Regions from separate parts of the Homo sapiens genome. Here region 2 is linked to region 1. The links are contacts of gene promoters, found by promoter capture Hi-C in human tissues and cell types (Jung and others, 2019). All regions are on one chromosome and are shown on one strand. Each heading gives the region's core, a stretch centred on a gene start or on the middle of the fragment in contact. The rest is flanking DNA. Distances are from core to core; before and after follow the strand shown. Region 1 holds the start of OR6B2 (olfactory receptor family 6 subfamily B member 2). Region 2 has its middle 40 kb from the start of OTOS.

Region 1 (3,356 bases), core at 415-2,914:
TACTGTGACAAATATACCCTCTTCATGTAGGAAGTTAGCCTTGGAGGAAGCTGAATGGAGGATCTCCCAGAGCTCTCTGCACTCTCTTTGTAACTTTTCTGTAAATCTAAAATTATTCCAAAATAAAAAGTTTATTTAAAAGAAAATGCAGCCATTGTCTAACAAGTTCAGGGGATGGATAGAGTGTGCTGTAAAGGGCCCTGAATTTGTAAAGTAACACAGTTTCAATTTAATGAATCAATCCGGTATTAACTAGCCAACTCACTAATGATCAGTTACCACTATCCAAATAATCAAGAGAAATCTATAGGTGCCTCTACTGTTCTGGGTTAAAAGCACAAGAACCAAAGCTCACTACCCCCACCGCCAGCTCTCCCCAGCAAACCCAGTCAACAGGTGGGGGCTGCTGGCCTTCCAAGGAGCTCCTGTGGACCCCAACTTTCCTCCTTGTGGACTTTAAAGCCCCCTGTGGCCACTCAGCTGGGAAGAGGACACAGTCACCACCCTGGATGGTGTCTAGAGAGGCTACATTCAGACTCACATCTTGAGACCCCTTTAATGGCAGGGGTTCTTATTGCTTTTGTTTTGGGGAGACAGTAGGCGGTGACTGGAGTGAGTAGTAAATGCTTGTGAAATTGATCCTAAACTCTGAACTGCACGCTGGCATTTTAAGGCAGGGAATGGCCATGCCGCCCCAGTGGATGATCTTGGGTTCCCACAGAATGCTCACCCTAGACGGCAGGAGTACAGGTGCGTTTCCAAGTGTAAACCTGTCCCTGGGCAATTCCCTTCTAGAAGTTTGTTTTTCAGCCTGCAACTCTTCCATGAACTCGACTTGTCTAGCCAACCCCCTACACGTCACCATGAGGCTCTCCAGTAAGTGCCGCGCACCACGCCTCCCCAGCACAGACTCCAGATTATTCGGCACCCACCTGGCCCTCTCCTAGTCTTCTCATCAATTTTTAGCATCCTGGGCCAGAAACCTGGGGTCACCCTCCCCAGCTGTGAGCTGGTGGAAGTCTGCCATTCAACCCACCTAGACTGCCAATGAAAAGAACCACCAGATGCCCTGTGGGGCAAGGGGCTGTGGCTACCCTCTCTCTCCCCCACCTGTGGACCAGGTCCCCCAGAGCCAGGCAGCCCTTTCCTGGGAGCCCTCCCTGCATTCCTCCGGCTGGTTAGCCCAGTTTGGGGTTCTGCCCTGGTAGGCTGATAGCCCCTCACCTCATGCCGAGGCTGCTGCCCCGACTTGCAGGAACCCTCAGATGAAGGACCCTAAGGAGGGCCAGCTCTGTGTCCATGCCCACTTGGATCTTGAGAGCTGCCCCAGGCACGTGTGGACTGGTAGTGCCCCTGGACTCAGAGCTTTGGGTTTTGCCCACCCTGGAGCTGCCCGGCTCTGTTCCTCAGCATATACTCTCTTCCTCATTCCTACTTCATGGTTATATGTAAATGCAAGCACACAGAAGTTTTCTACTTTAAAACTCAGAAGATCAGCAGATCACTGCTCTCTCCTGGTGCTCTGGGGAGCCACGTGGCCTCTCTTTGCACCAAAACTCCCCATCCAAGTCCAGCTCCACTCTCTCTCTGCCTCAGCTGCCCTGCAGCCCTTTCCTCTTGCTCTTTGATGTTTTGTAGGCCTGCAGCTCCCAAGCACAGAGGCATGAGTGGGGAGAATGTCACCAAGGTCAGCACCTTCATCCTGGTGGGCCTCCCCACGGCCCCAGGGCTGCAGTACCTGCTCTTCCTCCTCTTCCTGCTCACCTACCTCTTTGTCCTGGTGGAGAACCTGGCCATCATCCTCATCGTCTGGAGCAGCACCTCCCTCCACAGGCCCATGTACTACTTTCTGAGCTCCATGTCTTTCCTGGAGATCTGGTACGTGTCTGACATCACCCCCAAGATGCTGGAGGGCTTCCTCCTCCAGCAGAAACGCATCTCTTTCGTCGGGTGCATGACGCAGCTCTACTTCTTCAGCTCCCTGGTGTGCACCGAGTGTGTGCTTCTGGCCTCCATGGCCTACGACCGCTACGTGGCCATCTGCCACCCGCTGCGCTACCACGTCCTTGTGACCCCGGGGCTGTGCCTCCAGCTGGTGGGCTTCTCCTTTGTGAGTGGCTTCACCATCTCCATGATCAAGGTCTGTTTTATCTCCAGCGTCACGTTCTGTGGCTCCAACGTCTTGAACCACTTCTTCTGTGACATTTCCCCCATCCTCAAGCTGGCCTGCACGGACTTCTCCACTGCAGAGCTGGTGGATTTCATCCTGGCCTTCATCATCCTGGTGTTTCCGCTCCTGGCCACCATACTGTCATATTGGCACATCACCCTGGCTGTCCTGCGCATCCCCTCGGCCACCGGCTGCTGGAGAGCCTTCTCTACCTGCGCCTCTCACCTCACCGTGGTCACCGTCTTCTATACAGCCTTGCTTTTCATGTATGTCCGGCCCCAAGCCATTGATTCCCAGAGCTCCAACAAGCTCATCTCTGCCGTGTACACTGTTGTCACGCCAATAATTAACCCTTTGATTTACTGCCTGAGGAACAAGGAATTTAAGGACGCCTTGAAAAAGGCCTTGGGCTTGGGTCAAACTTCACACTAAGACAACTAAATGTCCTAGAGTAAAATCTGTAGTGATGAAACAACATTGTATGTGGCACTTTGTGCTCTTTAAATTAATTTTTAAGTTAAATTTAACAAACCTACAGAACTAAGTGAAATTTAACAAACCTACACAACTGTGCACAAGTAACAAGCCTTCGTCTGCATATGTTTTCACAAAAGGACTGTGCTCATGGAACCAGCTCCCAGATCAAGAACTAGAAGCTGCCTTCACGCCCTCTCCCAGTCATTAACCCTTCTCCACAAAAAGCACTGTCCTGACTTCCAAAACCAGATGCTAGCATTGGTGTTTCTGAGGGGCTTACACATAAAGTATGTGCCCTGTTATGTTCAGCTTCTTTCATTCACCGTGTTGCTTGAGTGAATCCTTGATGTTTTTGCATGTAACAATAATTCATGCATTCTCATTGCTATCCAATATTCATAATAAATAATACATTTATACTGTATAATACACAATGCATAATACATTCATACTGGGATAATACATATACTGGGATAATGCATATACTGTATTGTGTATTATATATACATAATACATTATGCTGGGTGAAACCCTGTCCCACCTGTCCCAGCAGGTGTGAGCCACTGTGCTCATCCATAATTTATGCATCTAAACACAGATAAGGTAAGTCAAAATATAATGTCATAATCTTATGGGACCACCATCTTATGTGCCGTTCAGTTCATCATTCACCAAATGTCATTGTGTGGTGCACTACTGCGTCAGTTGA
Region 2 (3,356 bases), core at 625-3,124, 150 kb before region 1:
GTCCCCACCCAAATCTCAGTGTTGGAGGAGGGGCCCGGTGGGTGGTGATTGGAGCAGGGGGGTGGATTTCTCCCTTGCTGTTCTCTTGATAGTGAGTGAGTTCTCATGAGATCTGGTTGTTTAAGTATGTGGCACCTTCCCCTTTGGTGTCTTCCTCCTGCTCCAGCCATGTAAGACATGCCTGCTTCCCCTTCACTTTCTGCCATGATTGTAAGTTTCCTGAGGCCTCCCTCAGCCATGCTTCGTGTACAGTCTGCAGAATTGTGAGTCAGTTGAACCTCTTTCCTTTACAAGTTACCGAGTTTCAGGTATTTCTTCATAGAAGTGTGAACCTCTTTCCTTTACAAGTTACCGAGTTTCAGGTATTTCTTCATAGAAGTGTGAATCTCTTTCCTTTACAAGTTACCGAGTTTCAGGTATTTCTTCATAGCAGTGTGAGAACAGACTAACACAGGGTCATTGCAGATATAATTAGTTAACATGAGGTCATCCTGAATTAGGGTGGCCCATTAGAGTAGTGTCCTTGTAAAGAGAGGGAAATTTGGACACAGACATACAGAGGGAAGAGAGCCATGTGAAGACGGAGGCAGAGATTGGAGTGATGCCGCCACAAACCAAGGAACACTGAAAACTGCTGCTGGAAATCACCAGAAGCTGGAAGAATCAAGGAAAGATTCTCCCCTAGAGCCGCTGGAGGGAGCATGTTAATGTTCCATTAGTATCAGAAAGAAGAGGAGCAGGTGTGCCGTGGCTGCATGGTCCTTGGGGACCTTCCAGAGGAGAGTTTCAGGAGGGAAGCAGGAGGACATGGCCAGGTTGAAGGTGATCAAGGAGGGTGGATGGAGGGAAATCAAGGCAGCAAAACAGACTTCTCTGAAGTGTGAAGGAATGATTTAAAACACAGGAGAGTTAGGGAAGTTTCATTTTGTGTATTAGTTATCTATGGCTGTGTAGCAAATTACCCCAAAATGCAGCAGCTTCAAACTTTGTTTTTTGAGATAGGGTCTTGCACTGTTGCCAAGGCTGCAGTGCAGTTGCCTGATCACAGCTCACTACAACCTCAGCCTCCAGGGCTCAAGCCATCCTCCCACCTCAGCCTCCTGAGTAGCTGGGACCACAAGCAAGCACCACCACGCCTGGCTATTTTTTGTATTTTTTGTAGAGGTGGGGTTTTGCCATGTTATCTAGGCTGGTCTCAAACTCCTGGGCTCAAGCAGTCTATCTGCCTTGGCCACCCAAAGTGCTGGGATTACAGGCATGAGCCAGTGTGCCAGACCCAACACATACCTGTAAGTTTACAGTTCCTGTGGGTCTGGAATCTGAGCACAGCTTAGCTTGGTGCCTCTTGGTGTCTGTCAAGGCTGTAATCCAGGCATCGGCTGCTGCTGCAGTCATCACAGGACTGGTATGGGGGCATCTGCTTCTGAGTTCACATCCGTGGCTGCTGCCAGGATCTGGATTCTTGTGGGCTGTGGCCAGAGGCACCTGTTCCTTTCCATGTGGACCTCTCCATAAGGCTGCTCACAATGTGGCTACTGGCTACCCTCAGAGGGAGTGAGGGAGAAAGAGGGAGAGTAGAGGATAAGAAAACACTTGGAGGGCCAGCAAGACAGAACCTGTCTTCTTGTAACCTAATCCAGGAAGTGACATATTCTGCTCTTTAGAAGTAAGTTACTAGGTCCAGCTCACACCCCAGGGGTGGGGATTACACAAGGGCCTGGGATACCACAGGGCAGGGGCTTAAGACCCCATCTCAGTGGTGGGCTCAGGAGGCTCTGGGGAGTTGGAGAGGTGGGGAAGGGAGGAGAAGCACAGGCCTGGACGGGAGGGGGTGCCTTTAGGGAGGAGGAGACGTTCGGCTTCTTGGACAGGAATTAAAAAATGAGAACATGCGCGTGGAAAAGAGAATCGATGTAAATCTGTCTGCAATCTTATTTTTTCACTCAATATTTTATGGATCCTGTTTTTATGTGGTCCTCACTGGTGGAAACAGCTTTTTCATAAATCTCTGTCTGGGCTTCCCAACAGTGTCAGCAGTTCCATCCTAGGGCTGGCACAGGTGGGGCCAAGACAAATCTTCCCCTGGGCTGGAGTGCAGCAGGAGCCCACCCAGGGCTTGGGGCTGGGAGAGACCTCTCTCATCCTGCACTGGCTCCTCCTGGGCTGCACGGGGTGCCAGAGAAAGTCAGGTGGCGTGGGGGCTCCTGTGTCCACCTGTGTTTCTGTTTCCGGTGTATGCGGCTGTTTCCAGTGCGCTCCTGCCCTTGTGCTGGCCCAGGGCCCCTGGCCAGAAGGACCCCTCCTTGCCATGGAGCGCTGATGCAGGGTCTAGGCCTGCATCACCCAGCCAAGGGCCCTGGGGCCAGTAGCCTTGGGAAGATGCCTGGGCCTCGAGACCCACCTGGACGTGGGAGTTGTTTCATGGCCTGGTCCAAGCCTAAACCTGATCTAAACCTTTGCCAAGAGCTTGTGAGATGGAACATCCCAGTATTTACCCAGCCTTCTCCTAGAGCTCCATCCTGTGGCCCCATCACCATGACAGCCTCTTAACAAAGGAGGAAACACTTCCAGGGGGTCCCACCTCCTCTCAACGGCTGCCCTGCCGAGTTGGCCTCGTGATTTGAAGAATGCAGTGCATTTTATTCTAAGGTTGGGTCTTATTACCCAGGGAAGCTGTTGGACATACAGAGCTATTTTAAAGGAGCAGAAATAGAACAGAAGAAACAGTCTTCCTGCACATTTCTTGCTATTCATAATATTCCCCTCTGCGAAGCTTTGATGGTGGAAAGGTTGAAGATGCTGGCTGGTTTGAAATAGTGGACCTCCCTGGAGGGACCCTCTGACCCCATATGTTGATTAATCTTATTCTGGAACATCCATGGCCCTGACTCCACTCCCCTTGGTGGATGTGGCCACACAGGCTCTCATACCCAGTTTTCCCTCAGAACATAGTTTCTTTGCCCAGAGTTGCTTCTCTCTCTCCTTGAGGCTTCTCCAGTGAAAATGAACATCTCCCTGGCCACTCACTCAAGCCCTACTGCAGTGGCTGAAAGCACTTTCAAGGAACCAGCCTACAGCCCCAAGAGAAGAGCCACTTGCGGCCATCAGCAGGGATTAGGAAGCTCACACCTGGACAAGTCAAGCGCTCCCCAGTGGTTGCAGAGAGACAAGATCTCTTGGGCCATTTCACAGCTCACTACTCACACAGAGAGATGTGAAATCATGACCTTCCAGAAGACTCTGCCTAGTCATTTATGGAGGCTTGGGCACTGTGAACACATCTGTTATATATCTCCGTCCTACAGCTGGTGAGAAAAGGAGAGACTTGTTTTATTCCAACATATAGAATCTTCCCC

The links. The method cuts DNA at HindIII sites, captures the fragments that hold promoters and counts their contacts. A contact is called where the count stands out against the background at its distance.
Region 2: a contact is called between a fragment that was not itself captured here and the fragment with the promoter of OR6B2 in region 1, in 2 of the 25 tissues and cell types used here (dorsolateral prefrontal cortex and lymphoblastoid cells).

Annotation. Positions count from the first base shown.
Region 1 is chr2:240,028,737-240,032,092 of GRCh38, reverse strand. OR6B2 (olfactory receptor family 6 subfamily B member 2) reads left to right here and starts at 1,664. Exons shown (of 1, transcript NM_001005853.1): 1 at 1,664-2,602. The coding sequence starts at 1,664. The coding sequence ends at 2,602. The HindIII fragment of the contact is 5,539 bases long and covers 1-2,587 here.
Region 2 is chr2:240,178,547-240,181,902 of GRCh38, reverse strand. No RefSeq gene overlaps it. Among named protein-coding and RNA genes, the nearest start is that of OTOS, 40 kb to the right of the region's middle. The HindIII fragment of the contact is 8,115 bases long and covers 1-3,356 here.